2 separate regions of the Homo sapiens genome follow, and region 2 is linked to region 1. The links are contacts of gene promoters, found by promoter capture Hi-C in human tissues and cell types (Jung and others, 2019). All regions are on one chromosome and are shown on one strand. Each heading gives the region's core, a stretch centred on a gene start or on the middle of the fragment in contact. The rest is flanking DNA. Distances are from core to core; before and after follow the strand shown. Region 1 holds the start of PLA2G4F (phospholipase A2 group IVF). Region 2 overlaps PLA2G4E (phospholipase A2 group IVE).

Region 1 (7,612 bases), core at 1,914-4,413:
TGGGCCCTTTCTCTTTTTCCAGCCAGTTTCCATTCACTTGCCTTACAGCCTGCCCTGGCCGTCACTCCCCAGCTTTGTTCAGCAATGGTGTGGTTGGAGAGTTGTGCTGGGATAGCGCAGGAAGGTGGGTCCCGGCAACACGCAGGGGATGAGTGGACCTGGAACTGACAATGGCGTGCTGCCAAGTGTTCCTGAGAGGTGTTTAGGCACAGCAGAGGGGACGCGGGGGGCAAGAACAGCAGGACGCTGGTTTAAAAATAACTCACCGCCAAACCTGTGGAGCAGTGTGGGGCATCCTGCCAGAGGTGCACAGGCTGGAGTTTCAGGCACTGCAGGCTGATGACACACAGGGAGAGTGGCCCTGCCTCCTGTCCTCCCCGGGGTTTTTGCAGACTCGAAGTCTCACTGCACCAGTGTCTTTGATGGTGGTGAGGGTGGGTGATGGTGCCCAGCACCAACAGTTTTAGTGGCCTGTCCTTGACCTGCCGTGGTCCTTTGTAAACTATGGCTCCATGCTGTGTGACAGATCAACGTGCTGATGGTAAGTAGACTAGGCTTCCCCAGGCATGCCGTCCGTGGGGGCCTGAAGAGACAGTGAGTGCCATTGGCCCCATTCGCAGATGTGGGAGACTCTGCTCAGGCCTGTGAGGCTGGGCAGCCCTTCACCAGAGTTCGGAGGAGCAGTGTGTGGCGCCACGTCCCGACTGGCCATACCCACACAGAAGCAGTGCTGCCCGGGGCCTCATCTGGGCCAGCTTGGACTCTGCTTCCTCCAGGAGCAGCAGGGAAGCTCTGGGCCACCTCCCTGGATAGCAGGAACTTGACCTGCCATGTGTGCCCTGCCTTCCTGGCCAGCTGTGCTTGTTATCTTCCATTCTCACAAACTGTCTTTGAAGCAATAGAATAAAGAATGTGTGTTTTCTTTCCTGGTATACATACATGATCCCATGCTCCCAAGCTCCATTCTTCCTTCCCTCAACTCTCTGCCCTCCACAGAGCTATGGAGAAGGCTGGAGATGAAAGCTTTGTAGTGAGGACTGATAAAGATCTCATCACTGCTCCTTATAATAAACCTAATAAAGCAAGAAACCAAGCCTATCTGGGTCTCTTATTTCTCCCTCCCGTGGAGTTTGATGAAAATAACAATGAAAAGATAGTAGTTTAGCAAAGAACTTAGAAGAATAAGCCAATTAGTGACCAAGAAAAAATGAATATAATACTTGCATTACAAATGCCACGTGGTACAGCCAGTGTGGTCATGGCTGATGAGTCAGCAGCACAGATACGGAACACATCCATCATTACAGAATTCTGCGGGACACACTGGCGTCTGGGAGATCCAAGTGTTTTCCCCCATCATGTAGTAGCACCTGGTGCCTCTTCCTGCAGCCCATGATGAAGGAATTGGGATGGAGGGACGCAGAGGTGTTTGGGAAGTGGAGAAGTGTTGGTTCACTTTGGCCAACTCCAAAGAGAAAATGTAGTCCTTGTTGTCTCTGTCCCATCTGGCACTAGGGGCAATGACTTTATTGTGCAGTGGGGCCGATGACTTCCAGAAGAGGATGGTACAGCCAGAAAGACACATCAGTCAGGAGCTAGAGCCCCAGCCTGGTTCTGCCCCCAGCTAGCTCTGTGCCCTCTCCTCTTGTATGGATCCGCAGGTCCCCTGCATACATTCACAGCTATCACCAACTGCCAGACTCTCATTTCTTAGAGCCCAGGCCAAGTCTTGGCTTCACAATCCAAATAAAGCAGAAACAGGCCCTTCTTTGGGGCCTGGTCACTGGCAGTCACACATTCCTTTTTTGGGGGGAGTTTCTGGTCTGAACTTGCCCATTCGGTTCATTTTGGAGTTGAATCACATCTTTTTTGGATGTTGTATTTTTCAGCCTGTGACTCTAGGCCTTGGGAAGAGTGGAGATGACTGAATCTTAGTTGAGGGACAGAAATTCTCTCCCTCCCACAGTTCACGGCCCCCGAGATCCTCACTCTTCCTGGAGACTGTGCCTGTCTCAGCCACCTTGATGGTTGTGGTCCACAGAAGAGCGAACATCACATCCATCTGCAGCCTAAGGCCTACGATGGCCAAAGAGAATGCTAAAGCCTGTATATCTGGTCGCTGAAGGATACGTAGACTTGTTGTTTGGCCTGTCCTTATTTATAACCCCCTGCCCATATGCCTGTCTGTACCTGGACACTGTACACTGACCCAGGAAGCGAGCCTGGGCCAAAGCCACAGGGAGTCATGAGACTGAATTTCTCCAGGATGTGGATGGGCCCGCCTCACCTCTGTCACCTTTGCGTTTCTGGGCCTAGCACAGGTCTGGCACCCACCAGGCTCTTGGTGTTTGGCGAATTAATGAGGGTGGTCAGGAGAGATTAAAAACATCTTTGATGAGTTCATGTCCTTTGTAGGGACATGGATGAAGCTGGAAACCATCATTCTGAGCAAACTATCGCAAGGACAGAAAACCAAACACCACATGTTCTCACTCATAGGTGGGAATTGAACAATGAGAACACTTAGACACAGGGCGGGGAACATCACACACCGGGGCATGTCGGGGGGCAGGGGGCATGGGGGAGGGATAGCATTAGGAGAAATACCTAATGTAAATGACGAGTTAATGGGTGCAGCACACCAATATGGCACATGTATACACATGTAACAAACCTGCACGTTGTGCACATGTACCGTAGAACTTAAAGTATAATTAGAAAATATATATAAAGAGAGAAACATCTTTGATCCCAGATGAAACACTGAAGCAGAGATTTCTAGGCTTCAGCTTAAGAGCCGCAGGGAAGGTGGGACTTGAAGGGTGGCTAGTTTCAGGCCTTTTCCACAGCTGGAGGAGACTCTTCCCTGATTTGCACTTGCCAGCTGGTCTCTGGGCCAGCTGTGCCAGCTTCACCTAGAGGTCTTGTTGGAAATAGCTCCGGTGTCTATTTTTCACAAACAGCCCAGTGATAACCAGGGCGCTGGGTTTGGGAACAAGAGTGCTAACCAGAGACCCCAAGAGTCTCTTGGAGAGGGACTGAGCTGCCTCCTGCCTGGGGAAATTAAGCTCCAGTCACTTCCTGGAGCATGTCAAACTCCACCTCCAGCAGGCCATCCAGCCTGAGTTCTCTGCAGAGCAGGCAGCTCCACCCTCCCAACTCAGTGCTGCCTGTCACACCTGAGCCAGCAGTTTGTGCAACCAGAGGAGCGCAGGCAGGGTTCCCTGCTGGGGCCCGGGCTGCCCAGCCATGCTTTGGGCACTCTGGCCAAGGTGGCTGGCAGACAAGATGCTGCCCCTCCTGGGGGCAGTGCTGCTTCAGAAGAGAGAGAAGAGGGGCCCTCTGTGGAGGCACTGGCGGGTAACGTACCTGAGATTACCTGGGAAACCCGGACTGGGGGAGTCCTGGGAGCTGCAGTGCCCTGTGAAGACTGAGACCAGCCCCAGCCCTGGGTTTTGAGTTGGGGTGGGACCTGTTTATTCTAGATGACCTGGCAGAGCTTAAATTAGACCTTGGCTCTTAAAAATAGCTCCCTCCGATTAGGAAATGGAGGGTTAGTTCACTTGACACTTGTCTGGGGTGGGTTGGCTTTCACCAAGGATGCGCGAGCCTGGCTGTAGAGTCCACGGAGCTGGTGGGGTTGTGAGGGGAGAGTTTCCCTCCCAGTAGGCAGCATGCTGATGTTATCTCTCCTAAGCCCAGCTGCAATCTGCTCGGTGACTCGTCAGACCGGTACCGGCCGGCCGGTGACTCTCGGCTTCCGCTCACCTGCTCGCTGCCTCCTAGACGGTCTTTGAGCCTCTGTCAGGGAGCAAGCAAGGGAGGGGGTGTCACAGTTTTCTCTTTTAATATTTAATCTTCTCAAGCACAACATTAGCACAGCTCTCACAGCTGCTCCCAAGCTAGAGTGGGGGCGCGAGCGTCTGAGGGGAGCTGCAGGTGTGTGGTGCGTGACAGCCATCGTTAGTTCAGTGAGTCCGTGCTGGATTTAGATTTGAACCCAGACCGGATGGGTTCCAGGGTCCAGACACATCACGAAGGTGCTGAACTCCCAATGCCTGGGACCCGCCAAGGTCTCCCTGCTCCCCGGCACAGAGACGTCAGTGACCCTATGCCAGGTTGCTGCTCCATGATGGGACGAGGGGAACAATGGGGCGAGGGACCAGGCTCACACTAGCTGACTGAGTCCCTGGAGTTCTGTTATTGCAGCGGGAAACCTACCCATACTATGACCTCCAGGTGAAGGTGCTGAGGGCCACAAACATCCGGGGCACAGACCTGCGTGAGTGACCCCATCTCCATCCTTCTCTCTGTCCTTTCCCTGCGGCTTCCTCAGAGCTCAGCTCAGGCTGGCTAACAGAGAGTGTGTGTGTGTAAGAGTATACATGGGTGAGTACAAGTGAGAGTGCATGTGTGTATACATGTGTGAGTATACGTGTAGGCATCTGTGCAAGTATGTGTGAGTGCAAGTGTGAGTACATGTGTATACGTGTGTGTGAGTGCGTGTATATGTGGTGTAAACATGTGAGTGCGAGTGTGTGGGAACACGAGTGTGTATATACATGCGTGCAAGTGTGAGCGAGTGTGTGAGTGCAAATGTGACTGCGAGTGTGTATACACATGTAGGAGTGTGTGAGTGCAAGTGTGAGTGGAAGTGTATATATGTGAGTGCGAGTGTGTGTGAACGTGAGTGTGTATGTGTGTATACGTGTGTGCGTGTTGTGTATGTGTGTCTGTATACATGACAGTGAGTGCCAGTGTGTGTGACTGAGTACGAGTGTGTGTATATACGTGTGTGTGTGCCAGTGTGAGAGTACTACACATGTGTGCGTGCATGAGTGCAAGAGTGTGTGTGTGAGTGCAAGAGTAGGTGGAGGGACTGGTGCTGACCATGGAGGTGAGGGCAGGCAGGGCTGGAGGGGACAGCTGTGCAGACTCGGCCTCCTCCCTGTGCCTGGGAGTGCCGCCCTGGGTGACAGTGTGAGGCCCGCTGTGGCTACAAGTCAGCACGCGCTCTCAGGGAGCTTTCCATGCCAGTGCCCACACAGGGAGGGGATTTTACTGCCTGAATCAGGCAGTAGCTGGAATTAATGGTCTGTGCTGCCATGGGATCTTTCCAACTGGCTGCCGCAGGATTTCTGTTCAGGTGAATGGGAGGTGTGTGGAATCAAGATGGAGTGAAAGACATCAAGGCTCTCCCTCCACCTCCTCACCCCACCATGCCACGTGGGCGGCTTCCCCTCCCCACTCTGCTCCTTCCCCTTCTGCCCTAGCCTCCCCAAGGAAACCTTTTCAGCAATGAGAGCTTGAGGCCCCGGCCCCTCCCTGTCCTACCTGCAGTGTCCAAAGCCGACTGCTATGTGCAACTGTGGCTGCCCACGGCGTCCCCAAGCCCTGCCCAGACTAGGATAGTGGCCAACTGCAGTGACCCCGAGTGGAATGAGACCTTCCACTACCAGATCCATGGTGCTGTGAAGGTGAGGGCCAGCCAGGGGCCAGGCTGCGGGAGGGGAACTCCTCAGGCAGCTACCCTCCTGTCCTACCTCATGCTCGGACCTCCTGCCTGCCTTGTCCCCAGAACGTCCTGGAGCTCACCCTCTATGACAAGGACATCCTGGGCAGCGACCAGCTCTCTCTGCTCCTGTTTGACCTGAGAAGCCTCAAGTGTGGCCAACCTCACAAACACACCTTCCCACTCAACCACCAGGTGAGCCCACCAGTGCTGGCGGAGAGCCCAGCTGGAGGAGGGGAGGCCCAGCACAGGGCCACCAAAGAGGGGGCTCTGGTCGGCACAGGCCAAGCCTCCAAGGCAGACCTTCCTCCACCCCGCAGCCCTGACCCTATAAAGGTCTCCCTCTAATACATCTTCCTTGCATGAAACCAAAATATGAGCTCCTTGAGGGCTGTGTGTTCCCTCAGTCACAGCTGAATTATCAATGTCTAGAACAGCACCTGACACATATTTTGGAATAAATGAGGTTCTCCATGGAGATACCACTGCCCCTCCTATGTCCATGACAAGCCACAATGCCAGTCTCCCCTTCTAGCCCCTGGAGCCAAGCAGGGCTGGCAGGCAGGAACAGCTCTGGAGGCTTTTGGAGCCTTGAAAAAATTGGTGCTCCCTCCCCCTCCATGTAGGATTCACAAGAGCTGCAGGTGGAATTTGTTCTGGAGAAGAGGTGAGTTCTGGTAGAGCCAACGCCCTCAGAGACTCAGAGATTTGAGTCAGGGCAGCTCCTAGGTGCCAGTCACCATGTCCTGCACTGGCCTTGGAGGCCTGGCCTGGAGGCAATGGCCTGGTCTTGACACCCATCTGCATGTTGGGCGGCAGGCTCGCCCCACTCCAAACCCTGCTGTGTTCCTCATGCTCTGCCCGCTGCTTCAGTCACATTATGATTGTAGAGGCCATCATGATGGGGCCAGATGTATTCTCCATGTATTCCTCATCCTTTGCAGCCAGGTGCCTGCATCTGAAGTCATCACCAACGGGGTTCTGGTGGTGAGTGGGGAAGGCAAGCTTGGCGCTGTTCTGGGCTGGGGGGCAGTGAGGAACCCGTGACAGGGCCCATCAGGCCCAGTTGCCTCTGAAGGACACCCAAGCCCTCCTCGGAGGGGAGATGTGCTAGGGAGGCACCTCCAGAGGGAAAGGACAAGAAGCTGCCAGGCACTTGGTGGACAGCCCAGGACCTCAGCCTCCTACTCCCACACAGCACGTTACTCACTTGGGCCTCTGGCTGCTGAGACCACCGGAGCAGCCACTGTCATGGCCCCTCAACTCCTCCCCCTTTCCCACCAGCACCCACTTCCTCTGAGTCTGGGGAGAGGGGCTAGGTATGACCTTGGGCTGCTGTAAAAGATTCTTACCCGTGAGGCCCAGGTCCTGGGAGGGCTGTTTCCTAGACCCTGCCCCAGGAACTCCTCCCTCCCTCCATCCTGGATGGGGCCATGGCTGTTTCCCAGACCCTGCCCTAGGCACTCCTCCCTCTCTCCATCCTGGCTGGGGCCGTGGGCTGTCTGGCTCCTACAGGCCTCTGCTTTCCTCAGGCTCACCCCTGTCTGAGAATCCAGGGCACGCTCCGGGGAGATGGGACAGCCCCACGGGAAGAGTACGGTGAGTCTGCTCAGCGGCCTTGGGTCTTTTGCCTTCTCTCCCGGGGTTGGAACTACTGATGTCAAGGAGGTGGGTCTGGGGCAGGAAGTTCTTAAAGTTTTCATTGCTCAAAGCCGACTAACGATGGGATGGATTGTTCACTGGAGGCAGTGAACAACCTGTCCCTGGAAGTGTTCGAGCAAAGAGGTTGTATCCGCCCAACTATTGCTCTACAACAAACACTCACATGATCTCAGTGGCATACAAGCAGCATTTATTTGGCTCACACAACTGGCAGTCAGCTGGGCTGGGCTTGGCGGGGGTGGCCCAGCCCTGTGCCATGCGTCTCTCCTCTGCCTCCTGTGACAAGCCCATTAGCCTGGGCATGTTCTCAAGGCATCAGCAGAGGAACAAGAGAGCAAGCCCAACTGAGTAAGCGCTTGTTAAGCCTGGTCACAGCCTGGCCACTACCTAACATGTTATTGGCCAAAACAGGGTTGAACTCAAAGCTGGAGGGCAGGG
Region 2 (6,859 bases), core at 2,592-5,091, 160 kb after region 1:
TGAGACCCTCGTCACCAATGGCGTGCTGGTGGTAATTATCTTCCTGGGTTCCTGTAGCTCCAGAGGCCACGGCTGGCTGCTGCTCTCAGGGGAACAGGACCAAGGGAGAAAACAGTGGGCCCAGCTTGGTCTCTGTCCTATCCTGACCTCTGCAGGAGTTAGACTAAACGAGGCCAGCCAAATGGGGCACAGGCAGCACTGGGGCACGAGCTGGGGCTTCTGTACAGAGGGAGGAGGTAGCTGGGACATCACCCTGGCCGAGCACTTCATATCCCAAAAGTGACCCTTCCCCTTAAGAGCCTCCCCAATAAAACAACCCACTAAGTGCAGCCTCCTCTCAGACTCAGTCTTGGTCCTGTACCCCACAACCCCAGTAATTCTACAAGCACAGTTTACCTTTTTTTTTTTTTTTTTTTTTTTGAGACAAGGTCTCACTCTGTCGCCCAGGCTGGAGTGCAGTGCTGCGATCTCGGATCACTGCAACCTCTGCCTCCCGTGCTCAAGCACGCCACCACCCCCAGCTATTATTTTGTATTTTGTAGAGACGGGGTTTCAACATGTTGCCCAGGCTGGTTTCAAACTCCTGAGCTCAAGCGATCTGCCAGCCTCAGCCTCCCAAAGTACTGGGATTACAGGTGTGAGCTACTGTGCCTGGCCTACAAGCACAATTTCTGTATTAAAAATTGTTTCATAGCCAGTCATGGTGGCTCATGCCTATAATCCCAGCACTTTGGGAGGCCAAGGTTGGGGGATCACTTGAGCCCGGGAGTTCAAAACAAGTCTGGGCAACATAGTGAAACTCCATCCCTACAAAAAAATACAAAAATTAGCCAGGCATGGTAGCATGTGTCTGTAGTCCCAGCTACTCAGGAGGCTGAGGTGGGAGGATCGCTTGAGCCCAGGAGGTCAAGGCTGCAGTGAGCTGTGATTATGACACTGCACTCCAGCCTGGGTGACAGAGTGAGACCCTGTGCCAAAAACAAAAATTCATATTTCGGCTGTTGGTACAGCTATTTTAATTAAATGCATCCAGTGCCTCAGGGTTCAAGGAGACCTCTCCCTCAAAAAGAAGAGTCTTTGGGAATGTGTGGCAAAGGAGTATGATCTGCCTCAGCATCTTGACAAGGCTATTTTGTCGGAAGCCCTCACTTTGAAAGCCCAGAGCTGAACATTCCCTCAGGTCAGATTCCCGACCTGCAGCTGAGGACCTGACCCCTAGTAAACTGTGACCGTGGGTCCTAGACCTCCTGGGACAGCTTCGTGGTCAAGTATCCTATCTCTGAGTGAGATGGCATGCCTTGATTGGGTTCAGAAAATGTGGTCAACACATTCTGCATTCCCCAGCATCAGCCCAGTCAGACCAATGCTGAATGTATCCTCTGGTCCCTCATCTCCCTTCAGCCTGGAAGAGCAAGGAGGTGGCTGGTGCTCAGACACTCTGTGACCCTCCTTTGTTTTTTACAGTCTCGACAAGTCTCCTGCCTGGAGGTTCATGCACAATCCAGGAGGCGGAGGAAGAGGGAGAAAAGTGAGCTGTTTTGCCTTTTCTGCCTACTGGGGGACAAGGGGGAGCTGCTTCCAAATCCCATCAGCATCAGACTCCACCTAGTCCAGGGCTTCCCTGGGCTCAGGGGGACCAAAAGCTCGGCTGAAACCCCTCAGAATCATCTCACCCCCAGGGGTCCTGAGCCCCTGGCCTCCCATCCTGCTCTGTAAAGGGCGTGTTCGCCCAAGCACCCACATAACCTTGGAGTATCTCAGGTCTGGGGTCCCAGTGCTGCTCCCTCTATCCACGCTTGTCTGTGCTGTGCCATGCCAGGACCTCAGATTGCCTAGGTCAGTGAGGTGGTCAGCACCCGAAGCCCAGGACCCCTCTAACTATGCCCCTTCCTCTAGGCAGACCACAGCTCACAGAGGGTCCTAGCACTTTATAGCTGGCAGAGACCTAAGAGATCCATGAATACCATACCCCTACCCTACTCCCCACCCCACCCCATGTTGCCCATGCAAGGCTACCAGACATGAGGGAGGGAGGGAGGACAGAAGAGGCGTCTACATCAAAAGCGACAGTGTGCGGAGGGTCTGCCTCCTCTACAGTGGGCAGGTTACTTTGGGGCATCTTCTGGCAAAGCTGAGCCAAGGACTGGTCCTGAGGACCTTCTCAGCATCTCAAAGGGTTTTCTGGGGACTATGTTTGTCTGCATCCTCATAAACCTCATTAAAATGCAGGTTCCTGGGCCCTGCCCTACCCTATAGATTGAGAATCTCTGGGGAATTTGAACTGGTGCCCCAGGTGATTCTAAACTCCTCCTGGATACCTCCAAATAGGTTTTTTGCTGGACCAAGTTGCAGGTGGGTAGTGAGAGGCTCCCAGGGTCTCACCCTCTTGTCCTCTCTCCCAGTGAAGGACCTCCTGGTGATGGTGAACGAATCCTTTGAGAACACCCAGCGTGTCCGGCCCTGCTTGGAACCCTGCTGCCCAACCTCTGCCTGCTTCCAAACCGCTGCCTGCTTCCACTACCCCAAGTACTTCCAGTCCCAGGTGCACGTGGAAGTGCCCAAGAGTCACTGGAGCTGTGGGGTACAAGGCGGCTGACACTGGGGGAGGTGTGGGGGACTGGGACAGGTGGGGGGTGCCAGAGGAGCTCCCCAGCCCCTCTCACAGAACCCACCCATCCCTCCAGCTTTGCTGCCGCTCTCGCAAGAAGGGCCCCATCAGCCAGCCCCTCGACTGCCTTTCCGATGGTCAGGTGATGACCCTGCCTGTGGTGAGTGCCTGAGTCTGGGAAGGGCCCCTGACTTACTTCCCCTGGAGCTCCTGTGGTAGGGAGGTGGGGAGAGCCTGGGGAGGTACAAGAGAGAATGTGACTCGTGAGGGTCTCTCTCAGGCAGGATGGAGGAGTCTTGTGGGGCAGGAGACTGATGAGCTACAGTGTGGTCCAAAGAGTGTATGGAGGCTGAGTTGAAGATGGTGGGGAGATTGTGTCCAGAAGAGAGAGGCAGGGATGGAGCGCCTGTGTGTGCACGTGTGTGCTGAGTGGGGTCTGGGTGGACAGTGTGGATCTGGGATCACTTGGCTCTGAATTGTCACCTCTGACAAGCTTTTCATCTTTCCCTCCCCAGGGTGAGAGTTATGAATTACACATGAAGTCTACACCCTGGTATAGTACCCGCATTCTGTCCGTGCCTCTCACTTATTCATAGCAGTGGGTGTGCAGTGGTATCTCACTGTGGTTTTGATTTGCATTTCCCCTATGGCTAATGATGTTGAACATCTTTCCATGGGCTGGCTGGCATATCATCTTCTTTGGAGACATTTCTATTAGATCCTTTGCCCACTTTTTATGTGGGTTATTTGTGTTTTTTTATTGTTAAGTTGTAAGAGTGCTTTACATATGCCAGATACAAATCCCTTGTCAGATATATGATTTGCAAATATTTCCTCTTATTCTATGGCGTATCTTTTCACATTCTTGTTGGTGTCCTTTGAAGCACAAAGGACTTTACTTTTGAGGAAATTTGTTTTTTTATCTTGTCACTTGTGCTTTTGGTGTCATATCTAAGAAACCAGAAATCATTGCCTAATCCAATGTCCTGAAATTTTTATTTTATTTTATTTTATTTTATTTTATTTTGAAATGGAGTCTCACTGTCGCCCAGGCTGGAGTGCAGTGGTGTGATCTCAGCTCACTGCAACCTCTGTCTCCTGGGTTAAGCGATTCTCCTGCCTCAGCCTCCCCAGTAGCTGGGATTACAGATGCACACCTCTACACCTGGCTAATTTTTGTATTTTCAGTAGAGACGGGGTTTCACCGTATTGGCCAGCTGGTCTCGAACTCCTGACCTCAAGTGATCCACCCTCCTCGGCTTCCCAAAGTGCTGGGATTACAAGCGTGCGCCACCGCGCCCGACCAAAGTCCTGAAAATATATTCCCATGTTTTTTTCTAAGACTTGTTTAGTTTTAGCTCTCACATTTAGGTCTATGATCAATTTTTAGGTAATCAATCTACATGGTGTAAAAGAGGGGCTCAACCTCGTTCTTTGGCATGTGGATATCCAGATGTCTCAGCACCATCTGCTGAAAACAACATCGTTTTCAGAAATCTTGATTGTCAGAAATCAAGTGGCCATGATTTCTATTGACAGTTTGATTAGCTATTTGCCCTTGGAAAAGCTCTTTGCCCTTACTGAGTCTCTGTTTTCCTCATCTGTACATTGGGAGAATAACAAGGATCCTGTGCATCACTGGGTTGCTCTGAGGATCCAGCTAGACAGCACGTGCGAAGTACTCAGTAATCCATCTGGCAAGTGGGATGCTCAGCAAACGTCAGCTAATGTTATTGTTATTATTGTTGTTGTATTATTATTATTCATTCCCTGTTGAGGCCAAAGAAAGAATTATTTTCTAACAGCCATGTCTGCAGCCCTGTGCTGGACAAAGAGGAGACATGATGGAAATCTCCTAGGCCCAGCCTTCAAGGAGATGTGGCTTTGTCAGTGAGCCAAGGCTCAGTTGGAAATGGTCAAGGTACATTCATCTGGAGTCACTGGGGAGCTGGGCCTCAGAGGATGCACAGGCTGGAGGTGGGCAAAGGGAAGACACTTCTGGTGAAGGCAGGGGCCTGTGCCAAGACCCGGAAACAGGACTGCTTCTGGGAGCTCTGGGACCTGACCCAGAAGTTTCGCGGGTAGTTTGAGGTGAGCTTGGAAAGATCAGGCAGGGTCTTGGATGCCAGGCCAGGAGCCTGGACTTGTTTGGGGCAGGGATGTGATTAAAAAAAAAAAAGAGGACAAGCATTGTGCATGTCACAGAGGTGCCTGCCCCACCTGCCTGCAGACTATGAGGTGACACAATGAGATCAGGAATGGGATGGTTTTTGTCAATTGCACACACACACAGAATAATTGTTATTCTAGGAGCAGGAAGAGCTCATTGAAGAACGTGAGCTCCATAGGAACAGGGAGTTTGTTTACCTAGCACAGAAGAGTCCATACCGTGGGGCCTTGTTCAGAGGGATTTGGCAAAATGATCTCAGCGCCTTTTGTCACCCATGCCTGGCCCTGGGCTAGAGAAGCCACCTGGGGGAAGACTTTCTGGACTTTCCAGATCTGGCCGAGGAGACAGAGGACTCAAAGCGTCCCTAACACAGTGCCAACAGTTATCTTTTGTTGAGTACCAGCTCGCATTGTGCCAGCTAAGGCTTTGGGGGCTTTGCATTTGTTATCTCTTTAAGTGCTGAAGACAGTGCTGAGAGTTCAGCACGATTCGCCCCACTTTACAGATGGGAAAGTGGAGACCCAAGGTCACAGAAGTGGTCGCTGGCAGAAGTAGGCTTTGAGCCTAGGTCCAATGGACCCTGAAGCTGTGTCTACTCCAGGGAGGTAGAGGCTGCAGGCCCAATACAGGGTCCTCTCTCCCTCCAGCCCTGAGACACTGGACGTGCGGCTGGGCTTCAGCCTGTGCCCAGCAGAGCTGGAGTTTCTGCAGAAGCGGAAGGTCGTGGTGGCCAAGGCCCTGAAGCAGGTGCTGCAGCTGGAGGAAGACCTGCAGGAGGACGAGGTGGGTAATCAGGGATGTGGCCAGCCTGGGCCCAGCTGGTCCTTCCAGCACCATGCCCTCCCAGCCAACCCAGGCCCTGCCCTACCCCAGGCGCCACCTCCATGGATGCTTTTACTGCTGAGGTACAGGCGCCCTGGTGAGAGCTGTGCTGGAAGTGATTCTGTTTTATATTCACAAGAGAAGGGGAGAGCAAAATGGAGACAGAAAGGACAGAGCCCCAGCGCCTCCTCCCAAGCACTAAGAGTTCCTGCTGTGGCTAAAGGGGCCTTACTCAGGGATAAAATGCCCTCCTCACCCCAGCCAGGAAAACATTTTAAGCTGTACCACCTTCTGCACCCCACACCTCCACCCAAAAGGCCTTAGGTCCTTCTTTCCTCAATTGTCTCTCCTCTCAAATCCGCACAGGTAAACACACTCCCAGAAATAACAGCGCTAGGAAGCTGGAGAGAAGCAACTTGCACTCCTAGGGCCAGACCGCCCCTTCTTCCCACGGGAGCAGACGGTGGGCCTCTGTCACAGCCCTCTGTTGCCTCCCTTGTGTGGACCAAGGCCCACACTCGCCTGGGCAGCAGGCAAGCCCTCCAAGCGCCTGCTTTCTGAGGCTGACCCTAGGTGAGGACAGAGACCTGGCGGGTGCCCGAGGAGGACTTGTAATAGCGCTTTAGCCAATGGAAGGTTCTTACAGCCCCCACTCAAAGGAAAACAGACAGAATGAGTCTTGACAAAGAGCCCCTTCCTCCCTCCTTTTTTTTTTTTTTTTTTTTTTTTTTTTTCTTGAGACAGGGTCTTGCTCTGTCACCCAGGCTGGAGTGCAGTGGCACCATCACAGCTCACTGCAGCCTCCACCTCCCAGGCTCAAGCAATCCTCTTACTTCAGCCTCCCAAGTAGCTGGGACTCCAGGAATGAGCCACAATGCCTGGCTAATTTTTGTATTTTTTTGTAGAGATGGGGTTTCTACATGTTGCCCAGGCTGGTCTTGAACTCCTGGGCTTAAGCAATCTGCCCACCTCGGCCCCCCAAAGTGCTGGGATTACAAGTGTGAGCCATTGTACCTGGCCCTATCTTTAGGGAAACATTCCAGGGGCCTCTTAAACCTCTGCTGACCCAGAGCTGGCAACCCTGCTCCTTCCCACATCACCAGTCCATTGACTCTTGGCCTTGCCAGTACAGTACCTGCTGAGCAGGCACCATGTGCCAGGCCTGGTGCCTTCCCTCAGATCCAGCTACAGAAGATGTTGGTTTGTCCCATTGAGGGATCGCACATTAGTAGGGTTCTTGAACAAGCTGCCCACCACCC

What was found. The method cuts DNA at HindIII sites, captures the fragments that hold promoters and counts their contacts. A contact is called where the count stands out against the background at its distance.
Region 2: a fragment that was not itself captured here is called in contact with the fragment with the promoter of PLA2G4F in region 1 in 2 of the 25 tissues and cell types used here (IMR-90 fibroblasts and pancreas).

Annotation. Positions count from the first base shown.
Region 1 is chr15:42,152,187-42,159,798 of GRCh38, reverse strand. It overlaps PLA2G4F (phospholipase A2 group IVF), which reads left to right and starts at 3,163. Exons shown (of 20, transcript NM_213600.4): 1 at 3,163-3,360; 2 at 4,210-4,282; 3 at 5,341-5,477; 4 at 5,579-5,707; 5 at 6,139-6,179; 6 at 6,457-6,499; 7 at 7,045-7,111. The coding sequence starts at 3,250. VPS39 (VPS39 subunit of HOPS complex) reads left to right here. Exons shown (of 25, transcript NM_015289.5): 25 at 1-1,098. RefSeq lists enhancers at 1-432, 2,723-3,438, 5,230-5,740. The HindIII fragment of the contact is 13,117 bases long and covers 253-7,612 here.
Region 2 is chr15:41,995,826-42,002,684 of GRCh38, reverse strand. PLA2G4E (phospholipase A2 group IVE) reads left to right here. Exons shown (of 20, transcript NM_001395548.1): 6 at 1-31; 7 at 1,465-1,528; 8 at 2,403-2,581; 9 at 2,685-2,768; 10 at 3,124-3,161; 11 at 5,426-5,561. PLA2G4E-AS1 (PLA2G4E antisense RNA 1) reads right to left here. Exons shown (of 4, transcript NR_120334.1): 4 at 3,591-5,546. Among named protein-coding and RNA genes, the nearest start is that of PLA2G4E, 22 kb to the left of the region's middle. The HindIII fragment of the contact is 8,280 bases long and covers 1-6,859 here.